Linked DNA regions of Homo sapiens: all the other regions are linked to region 4. The links are contacts of gene promoters, found by promoter capture Hi-C in blood cells and fetal thymus (Javierre and others, 2016). All regions are on one chromosome and are shown on one strand. The core of a region is centred on a gene start or on the middle of the fragment in contact, and the rest is flanking DNA. Distances in the headings are between cores, read along the strand shown.

Evidence for each region. Contacts are between HindIII fragments. The CHiCAGO score rates a contact against its expected background, and 5 or more counts as called.
Region 1: a contact is called between a fragment that was not itself captured here and the fragment with the promoter of HOMER2 in region 4, in 1 of 17 cell types (neutrophils). The highest score is 7.2, in neutrophils.
Region 2: a fragment that was not itself captured here is called in contact with the fragment with the promoter of HOMER2 in region 4 in 2 of 17 cell types (neutrophils and megakaryocytes); the score reaches 5.7 in neutrophils.
Region 3: a contact is called between a fragment that was not itself captured here and the fragment with the promoter of HOMER2 in region 4, in 3 of 17 cell types (total B cells, naive CD4 T cells and naive CD8 T cells). The highest score is 7.3, in total B cells.
Region 5: a fragment that was not itself captured here is called in contact with the fragment with the promoter of HOMER2 in region 4 in 1 of 17 cell types (total B cells); the score reaches 5.2 in total B cells.

Annotation. Positions count from the first base shown.
Region 1 is chr15:83,130,001-83,132,700 of GRCh38, forward strand. All of the region lies in intron 9 of TM6SF1 (transmembrane 6 superfamily member 1), which reads left to right. It overlaps HDGFL3 (HDGF like 3), which reads right to left. Exons shown (of 6, transcript NM_016073.4): 6 at 1-2,700. Among named protein-coding and RNA genes, the nearest start is that of TM6SF1, 24 kb to the left of the region's middle. The HindIII fragment of the contact is 2,039 bases long and covers 312-2,350 here.
Region 2 is chr15:83,194,097-83,196,796 of GRCh38, forward strand. All of the region lies in intron 1 of HDGFL3 (HDGF like 3), which reads right to left. Among named protein-coding and RNA genes, the nearest start is that of HDGFL3, 12 kb to the right of the region's middle. The HindIII fragment of the contact is 1,678 bases long and covers 513-2,190 here.
Region 3 is chr15:82,740,902-82,743,601 of GRCh38, forward strand. No RefSeq gene overlaps it. Among named protein-coding and RNA genes, the nearest start is that of SNHG21, 8.3 kb to the right of the region's middle. The HindIII fragment of the contact is 255 bases long and covers 1,146-1,400 here.
Region 4 is chr15:82,951,347-82,954,046 of GRCh38, forward strand. It overlaps HOMER2 (homer scaffold protein 2), which reads right to left and starts at 1,374. Exons shown (of 9, transcript NM_004839.4): 1 at 1,185-1,374. The coding sequence starts at 1,189. RefSeq lists an enhancer at 624-1,124. The HindIII fragment of the contact is 1,453 bases long and covers 560-2,012 here.
Region 5 is chr15:82,759,175-82,761,874 of GRCh38, forward strand. FSD2 (fibronectin type III and SPRY domain containing 2) reads right to left here. Exons shown (of 13, transcript NM_001007122.4): 13 at 1-426. The coding sequence ends at 174. Among named protein-coding and RNA genes, the nearest start is that of SNHG21, 10 kb to the left of the region's middle. The HindIII fragment of the contact is 4,379 bases long and covers 1-2,700 here.

The DNA.
Region 1 (2,700 bases), core at 81-2,580, 180 kb after region 4:
ATTACCTGTGTCAATTGTGCTTTGCCTGCACAATCAGGCCTCCTCTGCCTGCCATGTGCCTGGTCGGCCTGGTACCAGTCCCTGATGCAGGAATGCTAAGTGTCATCAGCCAGCAGGCTGGTTAAAGAGACCAGATGTTGGACCTGGTCAAGTCTCAGGAGACAAATGGAAACAGCAGGAAAACCTAGGCAAAAGCCTAGTCACATGGCCAGGGTCAACAGTCAGGAAGCTTAGGAAGGTCATAGCTTAGAGGAAAATGGGTGTGGTAAGCCTGTAGCAATAAGACAAACCCTAATCTGTTGGTGAAGCTAAGCTTGCAGGTGGGCACTTATTACTCCAGCCAAGTGGTTCTGAGAAGGGCAGTGTGGACTACAGAGCAGCTGGCAGCCGCAGGGGCATTACCTCATTCATGTCAGACGTCAGGCATCCTGGGGCTTATCCATCACTGCCCAGTTGATAAGGCAGCCTGAAGCCCCTCTCTTGATGGTGAATGCCCAGATCCAGAGCCTAAGGCTAAGGACCAGATCCTGTAAATGTCAGAAGGATGTTTCTCCCAGCCCAGCAGGTGAAGACAGACTGAGTAAAGAATTATGGGTCTGATTCCCACAGCTCTTGGCTGAGCTTTAATATCTACCCACTTATAGTGTGTAGGCTAAGGAAAAGTTAGAAGCCATGCCGCAACAAAACAATAGATATGACCAGAATACTGAATTACGTTATTTGTTTTGTACTTAGCAAATACTCGCTTATGAAATGGAGTCTCATCTTATGGGAGTATCTGACACATTCATCACAGAAAGCACTCTCCAGCAAGGCACGGTGGCTCACACCTGTAATCCCAGCACTTTGGGAGCCCGAGGTGGGTGGACTGCTTGAAGTCAGGAGTTTGAAACCAGCCTGGGCAACATGGTAAAACCCCATCTCTACAAAAAATACAAAAATTAGGCTGGCGTGATGGCATATGCCTGCAGTCCCAGCTACTAGGAAGGCTGAGGTGGGAGGATCACTTGAACCAGGAGGCAGAGGTTGCAGTGAGCCGAGACTGTGTCACTGCACTCTCCAGCCCAGGTGACAGAGAGAGACCCTGTCTCTCCCACCACCACAAAAAAACAAAACAAAACAAAAATAGGCATTTTTCTGTAACTTTAATCAGCATCTTTGCTTGCTAAAATTGCCATTCTTATTTAGAAACCTTATGCATTCATGATCCCACTAACTTTACTAAAACTTACTTTTACTGAAACATCTAGTAAACTCTCAAGAATCTATGCAACTTAGTAAGGGAAAAAAAAACCACCTTTGAAAAGTTCTAGATCAGTATAGGCCAATGGAAGAAATATTGAGTAGTGGCCAGGCGCAGTGGCTCACACATGTAACCCTAGCACTTTGGGAGGACCAGGCAGGTGGATCACCTGAGGTCAGGAGTTTGAGACCAGCCTGGCCAACATGACGAAACCCCGTCTCTACTAAAAATACAAAAAATTAGCTGGGTGTGGTGGTGGGCATCTATAATCCCAGCTACTTGGGAGGCTGAGGCAGGAGAATCGCTTGAACCTGGGAGGCAGAGGCTGCAGTGTGCCAAGATCACGCCCACTACACTGCAGCCTGGGTGACAGAGCAAGACTGTCTCAAAAAAAAGAAAGAAAAAAGAGTGAGTAGTTATTGGGGCCTTGATTTCAGACCATGTAGGAGTCTGCCAAATCTGCTGCCTTCAGAAATCAAAAGATCAAGGAAAGAGTAAAAGAAGATTGAATAAAATGAAACCAGGACACATTTTAGACCAAAGAGTTCCACTGGGGACTTACTCATAACCCAGGTATCTTTTCATATAAAATGCTAACCATAGGATTAAAGCTGCAAGTGTAATCTGAAAGGCATTATAGGCTGCTTAGATCCACTTATTAGCATTTCCTATCAATTGAAGCATTTTCTCTGCTAAAATATCAATGAAAATGAAAAAAAGCCAAAGCCAGTAGAGTTCATATAGTTAGGAACATAAGCTCTGGAGGTGAACTGGTTCAGATTCTAGCCTGTTGCTGATGAGCACAATGACCTTGGCTACTTTACCTCTCTGATCCTCAGTTTCCTCTTCTGTAAAGTGAGGATAATAACAGTAGCTTTCTCATGGAATTGCTGTTAGGGTTGGATGAGGTAATACATGTAAAGGGCTTAAAACAGTGTCTGGCACATAACAGCTATGTAACCCTTTGTTGCTACTATTACTGGTAGAAGATTCCCAGTAAGAATTTGGAGATATGCCTTATGTTGTTCCGAAGATTAACCTGAAGACAAACTAATTAAATTAAGTGTATTGTATATAATTACCAAGAAAACAAAGAAACTGGGTGAAAGCTTTGGGACAGACTCACCATGGGCTTGGTAAGGAGCCTGCCATCCCACAGCCAGCGAAGGAGGTTCAGTTACTTCAGTCAGGTGCTGCCCTCAGACTCTCTAACTCCCTGGCTATGTAGGTGCTATGTCATGTCTTTTTCTCACAAAGAGATATGGAAACTTACGTGTGAATAATTTGGTTGTGAAGAGTTTACTGAAGTAAATTTATCATTTTTTTTTTAACTTGAGACAGGGTCTTGCTATGTTGCCCAGGCTGGTCTCAAACTCCTGGACTCAAGTGACCCTCCCGCCTTGGCATCCCAAAGTGCTGGGATTATAGGTATGAGCCACCACGCTCAGCCTGGAAGT
Region 2 (2,700 bases), core at 102-2,601, 240 kb after region 4:
CTTTAAGAGATAGTTGTACATTCATGTTCATAACAGCATCATTCACAATAACCAAAAGGTGAAAAAAACTCAGGTATCCATCAGTGGATGAATAAACAAAATGTTTTACATATACACAATGGGATGTTATTCAGTCTCAAAAAGGAAGAAAATTTGGACATACATGAGCCTCAAGGATATTATGCTAAGTGAAATAAGCCAGTCACAAAAAAACACATACCGTATAATTCCATCTGTATGAGGTACCCAGAGTAGCCCACTCATAGAGACACAAAGTGGAGAGGTGATTGCCAGGGACTAGGAGGCAGGGAATGTAGAGTTATTTTTTAATGGGTATAGTTTGTTTTGCAAGATGAAAAGAGTTCTGGAGATAGAGAGTGGTGATGGTTACAAAACAATGTACTTAATATTACATAAACTATACACTTAAAATGATTATTAAGATGGTATAAATTACATTCTATGTATTTTTACAATTAAAATTTTTTTTTAATTACAATGAGCACATAAAAAGCTTATTCCAAGTCTGGTTTTCACCTTTTCTTTACCTAAAATAAATTCAGGGTTTCTGCCTAATTGTCAAAGTGGTTAGTGTGAATTCCTTATCTCCTTTCACTTCCTCCTGGCATCCTATGGAGATGGGTGCAGACGGCAATGAATTTTAGTGCAGCTCCCTTCCACTTACTTGCTCTGTAACTGAGCAAGTCAGTTGGTAAAAGAGATTAATGCATTTTAGCTTTCTCATCCCTTCGAAAACAACACTGAAAATCATCTTAAATCTTATGTCTCAGAAGGTACTATCATTTAAATTTTCATTAAAGACTTTGAAATTGCCTGCAGGGAAGGAAAAAGCAATAGAACAAAATGTAAAGGAGGGCTCACTCAGGATGCAGTGTTATCTCTTTCTAATGGTAAGACTATATAGTTGTATTACAAATAATGTAGACAGTTCCAAAAACTACATTTCAATATCGTATGACAAAAAAAGCTGAAACCCAGTCTTTTTGTAATAAATTGCCAATTAAAAATGTCTCCATGTATTCTCTTTTCCACGCTCTTTCTTAGTCAGTTTTGGCTCATTCTTGTTCATTTAGTCTAATTGCAAAGATAGAAAAATCCTGTCATCATGTTTCAGACAAATATTGGGCAAAAAACTTGAGGATTGTATTTGTGACTAATTGTATAACAGGTTATTTTAGTTTCTGTTATGTGGAAAGTGTAAAACATTCCAACAAAGGTTTTTTAATGTAGATTTTTTTTTGCACCCATGCTGTTGATTGCTAAATGTAATAGTCTGATCATGATACTGAATAAATGTGTCTTTTTAAAAAAATAAAAGAAAAATATTGTCATCGAGATCTACATATATTGCACTTGTATTCCTCTATGTACATGTTTCTGTTCCTTAATCTATCTCAAGCTCTTTAATGTTAAAATCATGTCTTATTAATTTTTATAATGCTAAGTCTATCACAGTTACTAACCCAGAAGAGATACTCAATAAACACCTAATGAGATTATAATGGTAGAACATTAATGTTACCCAATTCACGTAGTTCTACCTTCACATGGAAATAACTGAAAATTTAAAAAGTAAAAGTTTCAATGACAGAAATTAAGAATGTTATATGCTTAAATGCTGAAAACCAGGTTCTTACAAAATTTGGCAAAGAATGAAAAAAGGGAAAAAAATCTCCTAGGAATGGTTAAAAAAATTAAGTTACATATACTTATATCTTAAAACAAAACAGAAAAGTTTTGAGTAAAATTCTGGATAAAGATGTATTAGTGAAATAAAAGCAAAAATGAAAACAGGTTACAAAACTAATATCCAACGAAGTACTATAACTTATGTGCTAGAAAGTATGAAATAGCAGATCACTATATTTTGACTCCATCCTGAAGTTACAAGTTATACACATTTATGTGCCAAATAAAGCCCTGACATTTATTAAATAAACGGTCAAAAAAAGGGACAGATATGTAGAAATATAATAGATATGTTAGATTTATATACCTCTTCATTTTGGAGAGAGTAGTTGACAAAAAATAAACATTAAGAATTTTAAAAAATATATTAGTAAATATCAATATATTTATATTTGTCCATTATATTTATTGACTTATTTATTAAGTCAATATACTTATTGACTCATTTATTAAGTCAATATACTTATTGACTCCTAAAGAAGCTTTCTTTTCAGGAATACAAAAACCATTTTTTAAAAGTTGATCACATATGAAAAGAACACTAAATGAATTAAAATAGTTAAAAAGGATACATAATCTGACTACAAGATAACCATATTAAAAAACAATAAAGCATTACATACAAACTCTTTAGCCAGTTATAATTCCTAAAATTCTCTCCTAAATATCTCTTGGGCCAACTCAGAAATGAAAATCACAAAACCTATTTTGAAAATGACTATAAAACACCAATTATTCAAATCTACATCATGAAGCCAAATATGACCTGAGGAAAACTAGCTTTAAAAGTTTTCATTTTCAAAAAGATTTCAAAAAAATTAAATAAGACTTTATTTCATTAAGTTTGAAATAGAAGAAAAGAAAAATATACTTGGGGAAAGGTAGTGAAGATGAGATCAGAAATTAATGATTTAGAGAAAAAAATAGAATTGATTAACAAAAAAGGGGGAAACAAAAATCCAAGAGGATTAGAGAAGGTTAGAGAGAGAT
Region 3 (2,700 bases), core at 23-2,522, 210 kb before region 4:
CTGCCTCAGCCTCCCGAGTAGCTGGGATTACAGGCGCCCAACACCACACCTGGCTAATTTTTGTATTTTTAGTAGAGATGGGGTTTCACCATCTTGGCCAGGCTGGTCTTGAACTCCTGAGCTCAGGCAATCTGCCCTACCTCAGCCTCCCAAAGTGCTGGGATTACAGGCGTGAGCCACCACGCCTGGCTAATTTTTGTATTTTTAGTAGAGATGGGGTTTCACCATGTTGGCCAGGCTAGTCTTGAACTACTGAGCTCAGGCAATCTGCCCTACCTCGGCCTCCCAAAGTGCTGAGATTACAGGTGTGAGCCACAGCGCCCAACCAGTGAATGCTTGATGAGCTTGTTTTTGCCTTGTTAAAATTGAAAACATGATTTATCATCTCACCCTCCTAAGTTTCATTAAAATCATACTTAAGAAATAAAAAGAGACATAAAGATATAAATAAGAGAATGGGAAAAGAAACATAAAGATCTAAACAAGAGAATGGGGAAAAGATCATTAGTAGATCAGAGATTTCAAAGAAATTTTGGAAGATAGCTGATGAAGGAATGATACTGATGCGGGGGGGAAGCAGAAGAAACTGCAGAGGGTGGAAGATATACCCCAGGAAAAAAACAATTCACACTACGGAATGCTAGAAGGGTCCAGAACCAGGAAATATCAGAGACAACTGAGTACAGGAATGAGATATAAGGCCAAGATTCCACATATGAAACAGTTTTCCTTCCCTTCCACCTCTGCATGCAGAATGCCTTACAGCCAAGAATCTACCCCCAGGGTGAAGGTGTGATAGGAGGAACACAGACCATCCAGAATTTCCCATACATTCACACATCACGCTGAAACGTTATTCTGGAAATAAATCTAAGGGCTCCGTAGAAAATCCCCTGCATTCTACCCATTACAGTAAAATGTCAGCATTCCTGTCCCATCATCTTGGCCATCAGAAAAGTTCCACACAAGAGAGCTCGTAATCCACTTATTACTTCATTAAAAAATATAAACAGTCAAGACCCCCCCACTCCAGACATTTGAGGAATACTTCCAATGTGAAATAAAGATGGGTGAGATCACGCCACTGCACTCCACCCTGGGCAACAGAGCAACACTTTGTCTCAGAAAAAAAAAAAAGAAAGAAAAGCTTAACGAACTGACATAATTTTTCTTAAATCCAGAAGAAAAGTGAGGTCACAGGGCAAACCACTATCCCCAAAATTGGAGAGGCAGACAGGTATGTACAAAAGTCACAAGCTACCCAGAGCAGAAATCTCCACAAAGGAACCAATGCCAGGGCAGAAAAACATGAACTGTAATTGAATTGCCAGAGGCAAGTGTAGACAAGTCTGAGAGTCAAAAATTCCAGAAGAAACCAGAAACAGGGGAGGGAGAACCCAAGCTTCTGTGAGTTTTACCTCCAAGAGTTTGACCAGGTTCTCACAATAAATATTAGAGAAAAATCTTGTCATGCTTCTAGCAGGAGAAGAAGAAAAAGAACCATTTCGAAACATGCCAGAGCATGCTGTTCTTAACAAAGTCTGCCCTCGGGAGAAATATTTAATCAGAGCCTAAATGGCTGGAGTTTTATCAGAGCCTAACTGGCCTGGGAGAAGGGAAAAATGCCCAACGCCAGCCCACTCTGGCCATCTTGTCCCACCTAAGGGGGAAGAAAAAAACTGAGAAGCACTTGTAAAGTTCACATTCCAGAAGCACATGCTCACTAAAAGACTGAGACCTAATCATAGGGTTCATAGAGGAATACTTTCCCTCTCCCCACACCTTACCCCCACATTACTAAAGGCCTATTTGCAGCAGTTCCTTTTCCCTGGTACATCCTGTCCAGCTATGAAGAAAAAATTACAAGGCAAACTAAAAGGCAAAACACACATTTTGAAGAGACAGAGCAAGCATCAGAACCAGACATGGCAGGAATGTTGGAATTATTAGACAAGAAATTTTAAACAACTTTGATTAATATACTAACAGCTTTAATGGGTAAAGTAGACAGCATGCAAGAACAGATGGTCAGTGTAAACAGAGAGATGGAAATCCTAAGAAAGAACCAAAAAGACGCTGGGAGCAGTGGCTTACACCTATAATCCTAACACTTTGGGAGGCCGAAGTGGGGCAGATTGCCTGAGCTCAGGAGTTCGAGACCAGCCTGGGCAACATGGCGAAACCCTGTCTCTACTAAAAATACAAAAAAATTAGCAGGGGGTGGTGGTGCGTGCCTGTAGTCCCAGCTTCTTGTGAGGCTGAGGCACAAGAATCTCTTGAACCCAGACCCAGGAAACAGAGGTTGCAGTGAGCCGAGATCATGCCACTGCATTCCAGCCTGGGTAACAGTGAGGCTCTATCTCCAAAATAAATAAATAAACAAAATAAAATAAAAACAAAAAAGAACCAAAAAAAATGCAAGAGATAAAAAACACTGTGAATAGAAAATGAAGAATGTCTTTGATGGGCTAATAGACTGGACATGGTGAGGAAAGATATGATATATGATGATATATCAACAGAAACCTTTTTTTTCTTTTTTTTTTTTTTTTTTGAGATGGAGTCTCACTTCATTGCCTGGGCTGGAGTGAAGTGGCGTGATCTCAGCTCACTGCAACCTCCACCTCCCAGGTTCAAGCAATTCTCCTGCTTCAGCTTCCCAAGTAGCTGGGACTACAGGCGCATGATGCCACGCCCGGC
Region 4 (2,700 bases), core at 124-2,623:
TCACACACTCTGCAGCTCCCATGGCTAAGACTCACCAGGCAAAATGACTCCAGAAACTTAACCTGGAGTACGGTGCAAGAAAGCCACTGACCCAGGGGGGCTGAGCCAGGGCACCAGGACAATCTTGCTCCTTCCACTGCACTCTTGCCTTCCCAGGCCCCACCCATCCCAAACAGGAAAGCAAGATCTCTAGACCCTTGGAGCAGAAGCATTTGAGTCCTGCGAAGGGCTGTTGGAAGAATGCTGGGTTCAGCAGCAGGGAACAGAGAGATTTAGGAATTCTGGTTCACTTACCCGCCTCCATGCCCACGTCAGGCAGTGGCAAGGCCACCCCTGCTACACAAATGCTCATCAACTACACAGCCTGGGGGAAGTCACCGAACCACTTTGTGCCTCAGTTTCCTCATCTGTAAAGTGGACATAAGTGTCCCCTGAATACGTATGGCAAACCGTCAACGTGTGCCCAAATAGAGTGAGCAGATGTAAGGAGTTATTGTGCTATTAGCACAGTGGCTCCCAGACTCACAGAGCCTACTGCTCAGAGAGACGCCGAGGGGAAAGCTTAAATTACTTTATATACTCAGAAGCATTAGTCACTTCGACAGAGTATTTCAACTTCCCTCCTGAGCATCTACTCAGTTGTTTCAAAGACTGAAGCCTCACCTAGGTTCCTTATAGACTTCCATCATCTTCAGCATCTCAAAGCAGATCCAAAGTCCACTATTCCTACGCTGGAGGTTTATTATTATTTGATTATTTCCAGGAAAACTTCGATTTCCATTTTGCTTGTAATAAATCCAAACGTGGAGAACGACAAACTGCTTAGACTCACACAGGCCCTGGAGTTGACTGCGCCCAGGGGCGAAGAGACCGCGGAATGGCCGAGGCAGGAGGCCGGCCAGGGCACCGGTCCCCGTCAGGTGCCCCCGTGCCCGGGCTGTATGGGAGGGGAAGGGCCACGGGCTCCGCGCCCAGGCCAGGGTGCCCCTGCTGGGTGTCCGCGTGCCCCGGCGGAGGGCGCGGGTCAGGTGGCCCCAGACTCCCGGGCGCAGAGTGTGCGCTCGCTCCGGCTTGGGGAGGCGGGGGCCGGCCCGCCGGGAGGCTCCGAGCCCGGTTACGCCAGCCGCGGCCCCGCAGTCCCTCCGGAGGGGCGCGCGGAGAGCGCGCGGCGCGGGCTCACTCACCCCATCTCCGGCGCTGCTCCGGCGGCCGCTCCGACGGGGCCTCTCGCGCTCGCTCTCCGCCCGCTCGGCAGCCGCTCCCCGCGCGGCACATGCGGCGGCCCGTGCGCGCCCGGCTCAGCCCCGGCGCCGCTCCATTCCGCGGGGCTGCGCGGCTGCCACTGCTGCCACTGCCGCCACCGCCGCCAGGCGCGGGCGGGCGGGGGCTGGGCGGCCGCGCTGGGGCGGTGCCCGCCCCGCCCTCCCCAGCCGCTACCCCCGCCCGGCTCCTTACGTAACCTCGTGGCCCCCGGGCCGCGGCAGCGAGCCAAGAGGCGGGGGGCGCAGCACTGTGTGCACCGTCCCCCGCGCAGCCGCGCAGTCGCCGCTTTTCTCCCGGGCCACCCAGTCCTCGGTGCCGGCCCCGCGTTGGCGCGCCCCCGCCCCACGCCGACCCGGGGCCCTGGCGCAGTGCCATCAACATCCTGCCTGATGGACTTAAAGTCCCATTCACACCTGGCGGGGACTTTAGGGCTACCTTTACTTTGCAGATAAGGGAACCGAGGCCTGGGGAGGGTAAGTGATTTGCCCAAGGTCACACATTCAGATTAGAGTTCGTTCGGGTCTCCAGAGTCTGAGATGGGCATAGCTGTGCTCCTCCTTAAAGCCCACCTTCATCTTCCTGCCAGTTGCCCGGCCGAGTGGCCTTAAGGTACCCGCCACCGTGAAATTTCGGAAGCCAGCCTGGCAGAGAAGAGCCTACAGGCCGCGGCAGATGCTCTGGGCTCTTTCCTGGATAAAAATGAGATGAGGGCTCCCACTTGAAGGGGCAGTTTTAAGGCGGCTTCATCAAGCTTGGTTTTATCCTTAGAGCGAGGGGAATTAGGATGGCAAAAGTAGAACTTGAAGAAGAGCAGGCTCTCTTCGTCGCCTTTCTACCTATCAGGTCCTGAGTTTCTACCAAAGGCTGGCACTGGGACTAACCTAACCTTCATCCCCCGGGACTTCCACGGGATCATCTTCTGCTGGGAACACACCGCCCACATAAGCCTGGCATCTCAGGACAGTAAAAAAGTCAAGGGACAGGTCGGGCGCGGTGGCTCACGCCTGTAATCCCAGCACTTTGGGAGGCCGAGGCGGGCGAATCACGAGGTCTGGAGATCGAGGCCATCCTGGCTAACACGGTGAAACCCCGTCTCTACTAAAAATACACACACACAAAAAAAATTAGCCGGGCGTGGAGACAGGCGCCTGTAGTCCCAGCTACTCCGGAGGCTGACGCACAAGAATCGCGTGAACCTGGAAGGCGGATCTTGTAGTGAGCCGAGATCGCACCACTGCACTCCAGCCTGGGCAACAGAGCGAGACTCCGTCTCAAAAAATAAATAAATTAATTAATTAAATACATAAATAGCCGGGTGTGGTGGCGTGCTCCTGTAGTCCCAGCTACTCCCAGCTACTCGGGAGGCTTGATGCAGGAGAATCGCTTGAACCCAGGAGGCAGGGGTTGCAGCGAGCCGAGATCATGCCACTGCACTCT
Region 5 (2,700 bases), core at 23-2,522, 190 kb before region 4:
AGGACTAGAATCCAGGTTGGGTGAAATGAGCGCTAGCACACCAGTCAGATAATAGCATGAGCCATAAATTGTGCTGGGCACATGGTGCTTAAGTGCCAGGTTCAGCCAGCTAAGGCGTGAGCAGCTGCGAGAGGGGTAGGCATGGAAGACAGGAAACTGGACATCAGAATGTTCTAATAGAAAGTGACATGTTTTGGCATTGAAATGCCATTATGTACCTTTAGACACCCAGGCTTTTCCAAAGAAAAACAGGGATGCACAAATTCGTGAAGCTGACAACTAAATGTATATAGATGCTGAGAAAGGTCCACATTGAAAAATGACAACTTTGAATGTTCATAGTCTAATAGAATGCCAATCTTCTTTGGTGGAACTGTTATTCTTATATCTGGAGTTGTTCTGTTGTGCAGAAATTCATACTTATGCCTGAAAATTAAATTTGACATAATAAAGTTTCAGTAATTCTATAGATTGACTATTTATAGAACATTTCATACTAATTTTATTCATAGTCCTATGATTTTGCTATTTTCTAGTATTAAATGACTACCAAGGTGACAAGCCATTTCTAAAACTATACTCTCTAAACTATCTCTTTTCTAAAATTTGTCCTAAGAAACATTTTCTTTTTTTTTTTTAGATGGAGTCTTGCTCTGTCACCCAGGCTGGAGTGCAGTGGTGCAATCTCGGCTCACTGCAACCTCAGCCTCCTGGGTTCAAGCAATTCTCCCACCTTAGCCTCCTGAGTAGCTGGGATTACAGGCGTGCACCACCAAGCCCGGCTAATTTTTGTATTTTTAGTAGAGACAGGGTTTCACTGTGTTGCCCAGGCTGGTCTCGAACTCCTGAGCTCAGGCAGTCCACTTGCCTTGGCCTCCCAAAGTGCTGGGATTACAAGTGTGAGCCACTGCTTCTGGCCGAAACATTTTTCAAACATCATTTTTTCTCTAGCAACCTCTTAACCTAAGAAATTTACCTATAGCATCCTGAACTCTCTTTCATCTAAACTAGCATAGGAATAGAACATGTTTTTAAAATTTGGATTAGACATTTGAAACAGGGAACCTTGTGATTTTCCATGTGATAAAATGGGCTTCTTGGTATAAGCTCTTCTATGCACAGTTACTCCAGTTCTTAAACTTTCATATTGAGTGGGGAGCCAGTGGGCCTGTTACCAATCAATACTATATCACTATCCATGCTCTACATCCTGTGTACTTTGAAAAATGGCAGAAATGAAAACCTGTCACAGGAATTTCCTAACCCTGCTACCTACAGATATTTGAAGAGCTCTTTGTGTCAACAGGCTAGTCTAGGCTACTGGGATAAACACTTGGAATATGATCTAAACGTGTCAGAGGAAGCCTGCCTGTCTCTAGCCCATTTCACCTTAATTTAACTAAGCAGCTGCCAGAAGCTATGAGTCGTTTCTTCTACTTTCTATGCTACCACCAATAAAGTCTAATACTATGAGCCAAAAATGCAAGTCTGCTAGGAGACCTTATCCTAGGATACCTTACCTTCATTCTCCACTTGTAACGTGTGTGCACGTGTGTGCGTGCACGCACACACACACACACACACACCCTACATCTGTAAGAAACTGGCTTGGCTCTAGCACTTGGACTGTAGCTTTTGCCCTTCTTTTGTCATTCTTCTGTTTCCACCCCTCTTCTATTGTGTCTTCTTACCCCCTTTATTCTTCCCTCTACACGTGGACTTCTAGGCTTTCTTTATGCTCCCTTAGTTTTACTCTGCCCCTTGTTCTTGCCTTTCTAAAGAAGAGACTTTGCTCTTTAGTCTTACTTCAGGCAGAATCCCCAAATAAAGTATCTGCCTCAGTGTATAGTAATTCTTGGATTCCCCAAACTGGGTGTGAGGTTTAGTAGATTTCATTAGAGTCTTCATCTGTTATCGGAGGGGAAGTTGGTTTTCCCACTTATGCTTGGGCATGACACATAATGTGTAAATAACCATGATAGAGGATCATGGGCAGAGAGCATTGGATGAACATTAATAGGATTCATCAAATCAAGGAGGGTCAGAGGCCCCATTTTACAAGGTGTGATAGGAAAGCAGTGTGGGGTCTTGTTTTTCAGTTTTTGAGGTGAAGGAAGGTTGTAACCATGGCCTTCTAAGTCTGAAAGTGTATTCATTGGCCTGGGCTTCGTGAGACTTTTTTTCCCACTATATGGAACTACTCCATGTGTAAAGACAGAGTGCCCAGCAGCAGGAGCAAACCAGAATTAGCCATAACTACTAAGCCTCTTGCCCACATTTACTTAAAAAGATGGAACTGGGGCTTCAAAGCAAACTGTATTGGCTTAATACTAAAGGTGAACAGAAATGAAAAATCTATCACTTAAGTGGTTAGGAATGAAATCTTTGGAACCAGACTGCTTGAGTTTGAATCCAAGTTCCAAATCCATGTCGTTTGGATTATCTAATTGCTGTGAGGTGTGGTCTTCTTATTTTTATTCTTTTATTTTATTTTATTTTTTTATTTTATTATTTTTTTTTTTTTAGAGACGGGGTCTTGCTATGTTGCCCAAGCTGGCTTTGAAGTCCAGGGCTCAAACAATACTCCTACCTCACTCTCCTGAGTAGCTGGGACTACAGGTGCACACCACTGCACCCAGCATTCTGATTTTTCAAATGAGATAACACAATTGTGAGAAGTAAATGAGATAATGCATGTAA